Linked DNA regions of Homo sapiens: regions 1 and 2 are each linked to region 3. Evidence: promoter capture Hi-C in 16 types of primary human blood cells and fetal thymus (Javierre and others, 2016). All regions are on one chromosome and are shown on one strand. Each heading gives the region's core, a stretch centred on a gene start or on the middle of the fragment in contact. The rest is flanking DNA. Distances are from core to core; before and after follow the strand shown.

Region 1 (3,989 bases), core at 141-2,640, 1.1 Mb after region 3:
GCCCGCCTGTAATCCCAGTTACTCGGGAGGCTGAGGCAGGAGAATCGCTTTAAACCGGGAGGCGGAGGTTGCAGAGCCAAGATCGGGCCATTGCACTCCAGCCTCGGTGACAAAATATAATAATAATAAAATTAAAAAGGGCTTAGCATAGTATCTGGCCAGTAAGAAGAAATTATGATTATTATTTTGACCTTAGACCTCTCTTAACTGTCTGAAATTCGGGTTTCTTAAAGGACACAGGCGGTCTCTGAGGCTCCCGCCAGCGGAAACAATCTCCCATTAAAATAGGCATCGGTTAAATATTTGCTGAACAAAGTAAACTACGTCTCCCCGAATCCCATTGAGCGCCTACTCGAGATCCGGACCGGAGCCGGGCAGGACGGGCCCGTCGGTCCCACACGCCGTATAAGTGGGTGGAGAATACCCCACACGCCCAGACCAATAGGCGGGGTGAACGAGGACCGTGTTCACCAACTCAGCCCGGCTCGCGGAATGCCTTCTGTTCGCCTCCGGGCTTGCAGTGGCTTTCCGTCGCAGGTCAGGCCGCGTTCCACTTCCGCCGGCAGTCCAGACACGCCCCTCCGGGTCCAATCCCCGCCCCTCACACACCTGGCCCCGCCCCGTCGGGAGCTCGGCGGTCCTCTCTGCGCTAGGTCTTCTTAGCGCCCGACGGGGCCACGCCCATCCCCGACGCTCTGAGGTCACCTACAGGGCCGACCCTCGGTGGGCGGAGGGACGGAGGGAAGATGGCTGCAGAGACCGGATATTGGCGCTGCCTCCCCGAATCCCGGACCTGCGCTGAGGAGGCGGTTCATCTGTGGCCAGCGGTGCTTCGGGACCCGCGCTGGGGGAACCCTGGCGACGGGGCCTGGCCCTGCTATATGCGGGGGCCTCGGCTGGAGTGAGCGGCGTGGACGCCTCTTTCCTCCGGCTCTTCCCTTGTTGCTGCGAGAGCGAGAGGGCCGCGGGCGGCGGAGGCAGCGGGGCCGGGATGGAGGACGTTAACTCTAACGTGAACGCGGACCAGGAGGTGCGGAAGCTGCAGGTGCCGGTGAAGAAGCTGGGGAAGCAGCACGAACAGCCGAGGAGCCGCTCGCGCTGTGCTGGGCCCCGGCTCCATCGCGGTTCGCCGGCTCCTCCACTCCCTCCTACGGCGCGGGGTCCCCTCGGGGCTTCCCCTTGGGTCTCAGCGCAAAGTCGGGCGGCGGGGCCGGATGGACCCGAGGCGGACGAATAACGAGGAGCTGCGAGACGCCACCTTCTTGCTGGCGGCGGGGGAGGGCGGCTTGCTAGACGACCTGGAGCGTCTGTCAGGCTAGGAGGAGGGGGAGGAGAGCTGGTGAGCGCCGGGCGCCGGGCGGGGCTGGGCGGGGACGCCCCGGTGGCGGAGGACGTCCCGGAGGATCCCTCTGGTCGGGCGCCTGGCTTTGTGTAGCCAGCCAGGTCCGCTCTCGGCGGGTACTCGTGGTCTTGCTCTGGCAGAGGGGAGGTCAGTTGGAGTTGGGGGTTCGAGGCTTGCAAGTACAGGGCTTGTAGCTCCTTCTCTGGATTGTGGACCCTCTGGGTGCTGGGCCCTATTGGGGTTGGTGGGTTGGTTGGATCCAGAAGGGCTGTTCGCCGTGGGGAGGAGTCGGAGGTGGGAAACTGCTTTGTAGGCAGGGATTCTGCTTTGTATAGGAGACCAGCTTTCGGATGCTGGTCTGGGCATTTTGGATGTTGGGGAGGGGTTTGGCTTGATGAGGTATCACCAAGTTCGGGGGGTGCAGACCAAAGTCGCCGACGTCTATGCAGCGGTTGGTGTTTGGGATCAATTTCTAGCGTGGATGGGGAGACCATGTGGATCAGCACTCCCCTTTAGGTAGTGGGGTAAAGCTTGCTCTGTGTGAAGAGGTCAGAGGATGGTGGTGTTTTGTGTGAAGAATCAAGGGTGAAACAAGAGCCCTGGCTCTGATATTTTAAAACAAGAATTGAGTCTGGCATTTTGCAGAGCTCTGAATTGACATTTATCACATCTATCCTTCATTTCCATGTCCTCCTATGGGCAGAAAAGAGTCCTATTTTAATACCTAAACCAAAGCTGTATTGTCATAAGCCACTTCTTGATGAAATTGTGACACACACCTTAATATCACTTTCATAAATAGGAAATGGGAGGCTTTTCTCCTCATTTTATTATAAAGATGTCTGTGGGAAATTCTCTTAATTCATCCTCTTTAAAATTTTACCTTTTAGCTAAAATGTCTCTGTTGAAATTCAAATTTCTAACTTAGTGAAATCGAAATCATTCATAGACTGTAGTATTGCAGGGCTCGAACTGTGCAGTGTTCTGAGGTAGTTAAGAGCTTTGCTGGATTCAGGCCCTGGGTTTGCCCAGGCCTGTATGACCTTGAGCAAGTTATTCTGAGCTTCACTTTCTTCCTCTATGATGGAGAAAATAATGATAGCACTTACCTCTATAGAGTTATGAAAATTTAGTAAGATAATCCATGTATGCATTTAGCACTGTTGAGATCTTGGCTTACTGCAAGCTCCGCCTCCTGGGTTCACACCGTTCTCCTGCCTCAGCCTCCCGAGTAGTTGGGACTACAGGCACTGGCCACCACTCCCTGCTAATTTTTTGTTTTCGTATTTTTAGAAGAGACGGGTTTCACCGTGTTAGCCAGGATGGCCTCGATCTGACCTCGTGATCCTCCCGCCTCGGCCTTCCAAAGAGCTGGGATTACAGGCATGAGCCACCATGCCCAGCCTATTACTCTTAAGCCTAGTTATTTAAATCAAACATTTAGTGAGCTCTTACATGATGTTATAGGAGACTCTGAAGATTCTCAACTGTTGATTCCTGTTCATAAGGCAGTTATAGTCTTGTTGAGAACTAAGTTTTATGCAGATAAATAAACTAGAAAGTGTATGGTGAATTGCCGAAAGAGAGAACAAAAGTACTGTCAGTGCGCAGTAACTGGGAAGAAAACAGTAGTCCAAAGTAGAGGGGCCAAACTTTGAGGAGGAGGCTTTGGAGTCTGGAAGTGAGGAAAGAGTGGGAAGGGCATTTTATGCTCTGACAGCTACAAGAGCAGAGTCAGAGATATTTGTAACTCCCAGTTAGGAGATTTGAATAACAGAAGTACTCTTGAGTATATGGTGACAAACCTTTATTTTTTATTTACTATTTTTTTTTTTTTTTGAGACGGAGTCTCGCTCTGTTGCCCTGGCTGGAGTGCAGTGGCATGATCTCAGCTCACTGCAACCTCCGCCTCCCAGGTTCAAGCAATTCTTCTGCCCCAGCCTCCCAAGTAGCTGGGACTGCAGGTGCCCACCCCCATGCCCAGCTAATTTTTGTGTTTTTAGTAGAGATGGAGTTTCACCATACTGGCCAGGCTGGTCTCGAACTCCAGACCTCGTGATCTGCCCGCCTTGGCCTCCCAAAGTGCTGCGTGAGCCACCGCACCCAGCCGACAAACCTTTATTACCAGGTGATATCAAATATTATTAGAGCTGACTGTGGTAGTGACAGTTTTTCATATAAATGAAATTGCATCCTCCCAAAGGAATCCTGAGTATGTATGCACTTTAAAAGAACCCAGAATCATCTAAATATTGTCACATGGCTCTTGCAAGTGATGATAATAGTGATGCTTATAATAATGAGGATTAGCTGCACTCATCAGCCTGTAGAAAGTAAAAAGTTTCCTTTTCGAAATTTCCTTTCTTGTTAAAGAATAAATCATAAGTGTTAGAAATAATAGTTTCTTTTAAAGACTAACTTCCTTCAAGCCTCCTCTGCTCTGTGCTAATGACTCTTCATTAAGCCCTATCCTATGTAGCTGTTAGATATAAGGGAATAAGTATATTCTATGTCCTTGTACTTTAACCAAGATATTTGTGCTGGACATGCTCACAGGCACGTTCCAGCTTGCAGCCTATGCCCCTTCCTTATTTGGAAATATTATTACTTTTCTAAGTCTTTTTGCAAGCAACTTCTTCTTTTCCTT
Region 2 (4,213 bases), core at 236-2,735, 1.1 Mb before region 3:
AAGGATTTTTTTTTTTTTTTACAATCATCCTGCCCAACAGTATATAGGTTTGCCTGTGATCTTTTTCTCATACATAAGATGGAGATAATAGTCCTTGTCTCAATAGTTATTTTACGTTATTTTCTAACTCAAATAGTTAAAAGTCATTTGTAGGCCCCTGCTCTGGGCCCATGCTTTGTAGGATCTCACTGTCGCTGTCCTCAGGCTGTGCCCCTTCCTAGAGTATGAAGTCCCGGTGGGACTTTAAGCCTATGCTCCCCTTCCCCTTCCTCCGCATCTGTGGGGACTTCTCCCCGACAGTTCACGCAGGTCTCCACCACAAGTGTGCATGCCCTAGGCCCAAGGGGTGTCCAAGGAGTGACTATTTGTAGGGGATGAGCCATGGATGGAACTGTGGTGTCTGCACACATGTGCCTAAGACCCTCTCCCATTGTGGGATGGAGCCTGCAGTTCAGTAGGGGGAATGAAGGGAGGTGTGAATCATGGCTCTTGACCCAGGCCCGCCTCTCTCTGTGTGGCCAGGGTTCAGGGCAGAACCTCAGGAGGCTGGAAGTTGTAGCTTCTAACCTGGCCTTTCAGGTCATGATGAAGGTCTATTTGTCAGGGTAAGAGGTTCAAACCTCCTGCAATAGTCCTATTCAGCAGCTGATAGCTTGGTTTATAACTTTTGAATATTTAGATGTATTCCACGTGGGCAAATAGGAACACACACACATATATATGTATATTTGTGCATTTATATGTGTGGGCATGTGTGTGCACGTGTGTGTACATATATAATTCTATAGTTCACCTGTTAGTGTACCTTGATGATGAAAAGTGAGGGAGGACCCTGACTTTGGACAGCATGGATCTGCCTGCCACTTACCAGCTAAACTGTTTCCTTAGGGCAAAAATAGAGACAACAATAGTACCTATTTAGTTGGATTATTGACATTATTAAAAGAGAGCAACTAACATACTCCTAGAATATAAGTGCTCCATGCATATTATAAACTAACAATTGTTTCCTGCTCCTTTCACTTCATGCATGAAGACATATTCACTCACTCATAAATACTTGCATTATATCTATCTATCTATCTATCTATCTATCTATCTATCTATCTATCATCTATCAACAAAGTCTTGTTCTGTTGCCCAGGCTAGAGTGCAGTGGTGTGATCCTAGCTCACTGTAGCCTCGAACTCCTGTGCTCAAGCAATTCTCCCACTTCAGCCTCCTGAGTAGCTGGGACTACAGATGTGCACCACCATGCCTGGCTAATTTTTGCATTTATTTGTAGAGATGAGCTCTCACTATGTCGCCCAGGCTGGTCTCGAACTCCTGGGCTCAAGTGATCCTTCTGCCTCGGCCTCCCAAAGTGCTGGGATTAGGAGTGTGAGCCACCATACTCGGCCATTATGTATATTTCTTATTCAATCTGAGAACTAACTATAATATTATTCATTTACTATTTTAGTTCAAGTTGATTTCCTTTTAAAACATACACACCAAGTTTATGTGTATTGATACCAGTGGTTTCCCAGGTGTTTTTTTGTTGTTGTTTTGTTTTTTCAGATTCTCATTCTGTTGCTGGAGTGCAGTGGCGCTATCTTGGCTCACTGCAACCTCTGCCTCCCGGGTTCAAGCGATTCTCCTGCCTCAGCCTCCCGAGTAGCTGGGACTACAGACACGTGCCACCACGCCCAGCTAATTTTTGTATCTGTAGTAGAGATGGGGTTTCACCATGTTGGCCAGGATGGTCTCGATCTCTTGACCTCATGATCCACCCGCCTTGGCCTCCCAAAGTGCTGGGATTACAGACGTGAGCCACCATGCCTGGCCTTATATAGGTATTTCACAAAATGATTTCCTCTATTAGGACCATATTCAAAAAGCCCTTCCCCTACTCCACAATTACAGAAGCAGTCACATACATTCCATTTGATTCTTCTCTATGATTTCATTTTTGAAACTTAATTCCTTAACCCACCTGGAATTTATTGCGGTGTTGTTGTGAGGTTAAGAAAAAAAAAAATCAATCTAATATAATGTTTCTAAAAAGCCAGTTGTCTCGGCATCATTTTTGGAATAATCTTTCCCCTCATCATTCATTTACATTTCTACCTTTGTCACATAGTTAATACTTTTTTTCAATTTGGGTTTCTTTCTAAACCTGTAAGTCAATTTTAATGATCTAGTTAACTTTTGATGCCAGTATATACCGTTTTAATTCTTGCAGGTGCATAACAGTTAATACAGCAGAGCGCAAGGGCTGCTTAGTTTTCTTGTTTTTCCCTTTTATTTTGGGTGGGTTGGGGAAGGGAACAAGGTCTTGCTCTGTTGCCCAGGCTGGAGTGCAGCAGCGTGATCACAGCTCACCACAGCCTCAACCTCTTGGGCTCAAGCCATCTTCCCACCTCAGCCTCCTGAGTAGCTGTGATTACAGGGGTGCGCCACCATGACCAGCTAATTTTTTTTTTTTTTTTTTGTAAAGACAGTGGTCTTGCTTTGTTGCCTAGGCTGGTCTCGAACTCCTGGGCTCAAACCCACCTCAGCCTCCCAGAGTGCTAGAATTACAAACATGAGCCACTGTGCCTGGCCATTTTTCTTCTTTTTCAAAGTTGATCAATTATGTGAGCATCACCACTAGAATCTGCAAATGTCTCCTGTATCGGCAACGAGGGAGGTACCATAAGCACCCTTCTTTTACAGATGAGGAAACTGAGCACAGAAAGAAGAGACACTTGCTCAAGGTCACAAAAACAAGGCAGGTCCAGGAACAGTGAAACACAGGCAGTCTAGCTGCAGGGACCACGATCATAACCTCTGCAAAGTGGGGCAGATCCAACCTGAGAATCAATCTCCTTCAAGTCGGAGCATTTTCTCCTCATATCTATTATTACTGACTTCTTAGTATTTGTTTTATTTATTTGGTTGTTTAATGATTTCATATGTTTCCCTGTGTTTCGTTATATACTTTCTATTTATAATGCTTCTTAAAGTTTTCTGGTTACAGACTATTTTCTTTCTTTTTTTCTGAGATGTGGAACTTACCATGGTTCATATTTTAAACTCTTTGGCTAGGTTTACTAATAATTGTGCTTACCCGAAAGCATTCTTTAACTGCTATTTCTTTGGTTTTCAAGGTCAGTGACTCTTTATATGGCTGCATACACATTTTAGTACAATGATAACTGGATAATTTTAATAAAGTTGTATAAGATATAGTTTACGAACATAAAAATGATTCTATTATTAGCTAAAATTTCAGCAGCACTGTTGACATAATTTTTATTGTTTTAATTAAATTGCATGGAAAAGAAATAATTTTATCATAAGAATAAAGAGGATGATAGTTCAAAGTTATTTGTGAGAATATCGTGGCTGTATTGCATTAGCATCTTGACTTTTAAGGTGATGTTTAATAGAGACACAACAATTCTTTAGGTCGTAAAGGCAATTCTTGCTGTTTTAAAAAAATGTTATGACAACAGGTGTGATCACATAAAGTATTAGTAAAGATGAAACAATTTTAAATATTTTCCACTCTATATTCTACTGCTTTATAAGAAGGCTGACAAGAAAACCCTCATTTCACTAGATCATATCTACATCTCACTGGCAGGAAAGAAGGGCCCATATGAGTTACTTACCTAAGTAGGAACTATTATTCCTGTTTTACAGATGAGAAAACCAAAGCTCAGAGGCTAAGTGACTAGTTGAATGTCAGCAGACCAATTGAAGAAAACTCAAAATGTCACCACTCACCAAATTCACCTGTCTATCCAGCCAGTGCACACATCCTTGGCAGATGTCTCCTAATTAAGTGGAGTGTGTGTGTGTTTGTGTGTGTGTGTGTGTGCGCGCGCGCGCGCGTGCGCGCGCAGTGAGGTGGGCCACCCCGCCTGCAGGCAGCTCTAAGTCATAGTTCCGTTAATTATTTATTTTATATGATGATTTTGAGTCCTTTTGTAGTCCTGGCTGTCTTTTTATGAGCACATTTCTATTTGAGAAAGTCAGCAGGAATCTGGATTCTGGAATCACTGAATTCCAATGCTAGCTCCAATTCTTCCTAGAAACGTGATCTTAGAAACGTTAATTTATATAACAGAAATGATAATACATATCTTACAGGTATGGTGTGAGAGTTAAATGAGAAGTTGTCCATGTATTTAGCATTGTGCCTGACTGGTATCATGTGCTAATGCATACTGCTCATTTTATTTTA
Region 3 (4,360 bases), core at 489-2,988:
GCCGCGTGGGCCGAGCACTCGGTCAGCGACACCACCAGGTCGCCCAGCTCCACCAGGCTGTCCCCCGCCTCCCCGAAGCGGCCCATGTTGAGCTGGCTCTGCACGTCGTGGGTGAGGATGGAGAGCCCCTTGGTGCGCGCGATGATGGTGTCCCGGCACTGCTCGAAGGACTCGGCGCCGGCACCAGAGGAGGCGGGGCCCTCGAAGAGCACGGGCCGCGCCTCGCTCGACAGCAGCAGCAGGTCAGCCACCAGCTGCATCTTGCCCTTGCAGTGGTCGCAGACGGATACCAGCCTCTTCCGCGGCTGCGAGCTGGCCCCGCCGATGGCGCTCGCAGGAGCCGGAGAAGCCGCCTCGCCAGTGGGCTTCCCGGCGCTGCCGCTAGCCATCGCGCCCGGGGGGCACTGGCATGCCGCTGGGGAGCCCGCTACCACCGCCGCTGCCGCGGCCACTGCCGCCGCCCCGGCGGCCGTCGCGACTCAGCTGGCCAAGGCCGCGGTGCCTTCCCCGCACCATCATGCCATCCACCGCCGCGGGCAGAGGGCACTGGGCTGCGGCGGCGGGAGCCCGGGCGGCGCGGGGTGGGCCCGAGGGCGAGAGAACGCGGAAGGCTCTTCGGGGCAAGGGGAGGGGCTGCAGCTTTCGGCCTCCTAGAGGGCTTGCAGGAACCATGAACCGGGGCAGAGCAAACTCACTGTCCGCGCTCCTCGTCGCCGGGCTGCCAGGAAAGTCCCTTCTGCTGGTTCGCCGCCGCCGCCGCCTTCTTGGGCATGGCCTGGCGCGGCCCTCGGAGCGGGGAGGGCGGGACGGGGAAGCTGGGAGTTGTCCTTCCTTCCTTCCTTTCTTTGAAATCAAAATCCTTTCCTCGGGGAGGAGCGCGGGAGGCAGCTCAGGCGGGCTGTGCTGTCAGCCGCCGCGCTCGAGGCCACCTCGGGCTCGGCGGCGCACGTGGGCTTCAGGCGCCGTGACCCCACCAGGCGGCACTTCCCCGCGACGGCGGCCGGGGCTGGCTCTCTGGGACGCGCGGCCGCCCCGGGCGCATCTCCTGCCTCCAGCTCTTGGGAAGCGGCGCCGGCGGCAGCGGGGCAGAGGGTGTGGCCGGCACTGTCGCGGCCGCGCCGAGTCAGAGTCGGGCGGGAGCCTGCACTGATTGCGCACAGCGGCCGCCCGGATCGCGCTCAAGCTCTCGCCCGCCCGCCACACGCCCGGGCGTGCCGAGCACCACGGCGGCCCCTTCCCGCCTCGCCGGTTCACAGAGCGCGGCCCGGCGCCGCGGCGGCACGCCCTCCCAGACCGCGCGCCCGGCGGCCCGGCGCTGGCTGTCTACGCAAGTCCATCCCTGTCGCCTCGTCTGGGGCCCGCAGCAGCTGAGCTCTCCCGAGGCCCCGGGCCCCGCGCATCGGACGCCCCTGCACGAGTCTCCCTGCCACCGGGCCAACTCAGAAGGTCCCCGCGGCGCTGCGGCAACCGGCCCGGGCCCCGGCTCCTGCCATTTTTGTCAACCGCCAACTTCCGAGCGAGCGGGCAGAAACTGAAAGGAAGGGCGGGGGCCGAAAGGCAGAGGGGAAAACACCCGCTTCCTCTCCGCGCGCGGCTTCACCTCGGAGCGCGGCCGTGGCTGCGCCGCCGCCCGCAGGGGCTGCCGGAGGCTTTTCCTGTTCCCGTCCGCGCCTCGCCCCCGGGCTCGCCGCCGCCGCCGCCTCGGCCGTAACCTCCCTGGAGCCTATAGAAATCTTTTGTGTGGCGTCACCGCCTTTCGTTTAAATCCCGCTTCCTCCTCTCGCCCTTCCTCCCGCCCCCTCCGCCGCTCCCGGATGCTTGCGCGATGCGCTGCTCCTCCCCCGGGAAGCTGGGTGGCTGCGGGGGACGCCGCCGCCCAACGCGGACGCTGCCGGCGTGGGGCCGGTGGTCCTGAACTCCCCCGTGGTCCTGGGCCGAGAGACTGGGGGAGCGGACAGGGGAAGGCCTGCTCCGGCCCGGGGGCTCTGCGCACACCCATGGGAGACCGGGGCGCAGCCGCCCGCGGGCCTTACGTAAGCTCTTAGCCGGACCAGGGGGCTCCACGCTTCCTCCCCGCCAAGAGAGCAAGTCTAAAAGGTGACCTGGCTTCTGGGCTGAAGGGAGGAGGACACTGGATTTCGGCCCCTGGTGATTTGCTGGGGCCGGTGGGTCGTCTCGGTCTGCGCGACTTCGCCCGGTTTTCCAACGCCCCCTGCCCTTTGTTGTGTTTGATCCACTTCCACGATGGGTTTCCGACCAGCAGTGCAGTGTAACGAAAAGAGGAAAAGAGCACTGGATGGGGAGTCCGAAGAGTGGTGCTAGATGCCTGCCCGTTCCTCCCTTGAAATACGCCTTATGCAGTGAGAGCGCGGGTTCTGAAGCAGATTTCCTAGGATCAGCCTTTCTCAAGCCATTTATGAGTTCCATGACATTGTTCAAGTTCTCTTTCCAAGTATCCGTCTTCTCTTCTAGAAATTAGAGATTGTGCACAGGCTGCTTGAGTACTTGGTTCCTAAACAGTAGCTGTTAGAATTATTATGAGCCCTGATCAGCGCACTTTGCCCTCTCATAACGTCTATTTATTCGTCTGTATAATGGAATAATAGTGGCTGCTGTTAAATGAATTAAATACGACGGCGTTTGGAGGGAAACATTACTACTCCAGTTTTACAGATAAGGAAACTGATGATCAGGTGCTTGAAGTGACTTCCGAAGATCAGGAAGACAGCATATGGCAGGGACAGGAACCCACGCCTACGCCCCAGCCTCTTTTTACCGAACCTTGTTCTTCAGGAAGTGGTTAAAACACCTGGGCTACTCCCAGCAAAACGCCAGTCACGCAGTCCTGAAACAGGTCCTCTAAGGTGCCCAGCCCAACACAGGCTGGGCGTGCTGAGCCAACAGAATGTTTGTTCCTCTGTCCCTTCCTAGAACCCCAAGTCACCTTTCTCCAGCCAGTTAAAAACGTTACTTTTAACTAGGATGACGTTTCAATTTATCGGCCATATCCAAGCATTTCTGAGAATGAACTGTGAGACATGCTATTAATAAATTAACCATGAACAGCAGGTTCAAACCTGGATGGATAGTCATCCTACTTATAACTGAAAGTATCCTTAAATATCTTTAGAATCCGGATGAGCCCACTTAGTTTGCAAACCGAGGTCAATAAAACTGACTTGAAATAGGAAGTAATTATGTAGGGTTAATTCCTTTTTTTCTTCTACAAGAGAAAAAAAAAACAGCTGGATAAGTCAAGGTTTTTCCATGGTGACCCAGGGATTGCACCTTAGTCCTTCTTAAGCTCCAAAAACTTATGAGAGGGGGCCGAAAGCGATGGCTCACACCTGTAATCCCAGCACTTTGGGAGGCCAAGGCAGGCGCATCACGAGGTCAGGAGATCAAGACCATCCTGGCTAACACAGTGAAACCCCGTCTCTACTAAAAATGCAAAAAATTAGCCGGGCATGGTGGCGGGCGCCTGTAGTCCCAGCTACTCGGGAGGCTGAGGCAGGAGAATGGCATGAACCCGGGAGGCGGAGCTTGCAGTGAGCGGAGATCGCGCCACTGCACTGCAGCCTGGGCGACAGAGGGAGACTCCGTCTCAAAAAAAAATAAATAAATAAATAAATAAAACTTATGAGAGGGAAGTCAGACTGTTCTGTGCCTAGTTTATTCTTGAGGCTGCTCTAAGATCAGATTTTTTTTCCAAAGCCACGTAGTGCCCCTGGGGGTCCCATTTTCCCTTTCTTCTACATATGCAGTCTGTTTTGTTGTTGATGGAAACCCACCCCGACAATGAGTTGTGTTACACACAGACTGTCCACTCTATTCAGTGAGGTTTGGTTTCATTTTTAAAACTGATAGCATTGTTTTCTCGGCCTTCCCTGCTTCATTTTTCAGATAGGGAAGCTCCTAAACTGATCCTCCCAGGCACTGCCTCCACCTTTCTTTAGGTTCACCTTTACTTTGTCCGATTGTTCAATCACTCCACAATCACTGGGCACCAGTCTTGTGCTAGGCACCAAAGTTACATAATTTGTAATATGAGGCCCCCACTCTTTAGAGTCCAGGGATAGGAGTAGATTCACAAGAAACAGCCACAATTTCACTATTGGCACAGTGAGAGCACAGAGTAAAAAACCTATAGCAGAGATAATCAGGCTTCACAGATACAATATTTGTAGGTAGGCAGGGCCATGTGGTTCTGTCTGACCAATGAAATGTAAGGGGAAGCTATGCAGGTTACTTCTAGGCTGAGACAATGAAAAGCCAATCTGTAATTCTCCACTCTCTTGCCCTCCTATAACTACCACGGAGACTGCATTCTAGTTGGTGGAGCCTCTGTAAGCTTAGGTGA

The links. The method cuts DNA at HindIII sites, captures the fragments that hold promoters and counts their contacts. A CHiCAGO score of 5 or more calls a contact.
Region 1: a contact is called between the fragment with the promoter of ST20-MTHFS here and the fragment with the promoter of TLNRD1 in region 3, in 1 of 17 cell types (total CD4 T cells). The highest score is 7.1, in total CD4 T cells.
Region 2: a fragment that was not itself captured here is called in contact with the fragment with the promoter of TLNRD1 in region 3 in 1 of 17 cell types (fetal thymus); the score reaches 6.0 in fetal thymus.

What each region holds. Positions count from the first base shown.
Region 1 is chr15:79,920,493-79,924,481 of GRCh38, reverse strand. It overlaps ST20-MTHFS (ST20-MTHFS readthrough), which reads left to right and starts at 1,390. Exons shown (of 4, transcript NM_001199760.2): 1 at 1,390-1,443. It overlaps ST20 (suppressor of tumorigenicity 20), which reads left to right and starts at 730. Exons shown (of 3, transcript NR_037653.2): 1 at 730-1,030. It overlaps ST20-AS1 (ST20 antisense RNA 1), which reads right to left and starts at 1,711. Exons shown (of 1, transcript NR_028330.1): 1 at 1-1,711. RefSeq lists enhancers at 1-151, 353-402, 833-1,012 and silencers at 543-692, 1,313-1,362, 1,373-1,442, 1,463-1,572. The HindIII fragment of the contact is 4,343 bases long and covers 1-1,874 here.
Region 2 is chr15:82,052,602-82,056,814 of GRCh38, reverse strand. No RefSeq gene overlaps it. Among named protein-coding and RNA genes, the nearest start is that of MEX3B, 8.7 kb to the right of the region's middle. The HindIII fragment of the contact is 7,919 bases long and covers 1-4,213 here.
Region 3 is chr15:80,998,301-81,002,660 of GRCh38, reverse strand. It overlaps TLNRD1 (talin rod domain containing 1), which reads right to left and starts at 1,738. Exons shown (of 1, transcript NM_022566.3): 1 at 1-1,738. The coding sequence starts at 389. LOC128071545 reads right to left here and starts at 519. Exons shown (of 1, transcript NM_001414893.1): 1 at 382-519. The coding sequence starts at 519. The coding sequence ends at 382. RefSeq lists silencers at 441-570, 921-1,380, 1,421-2,110. The HindIII fragment of the contact is 6,287 bases long and covers 1-4,353 here.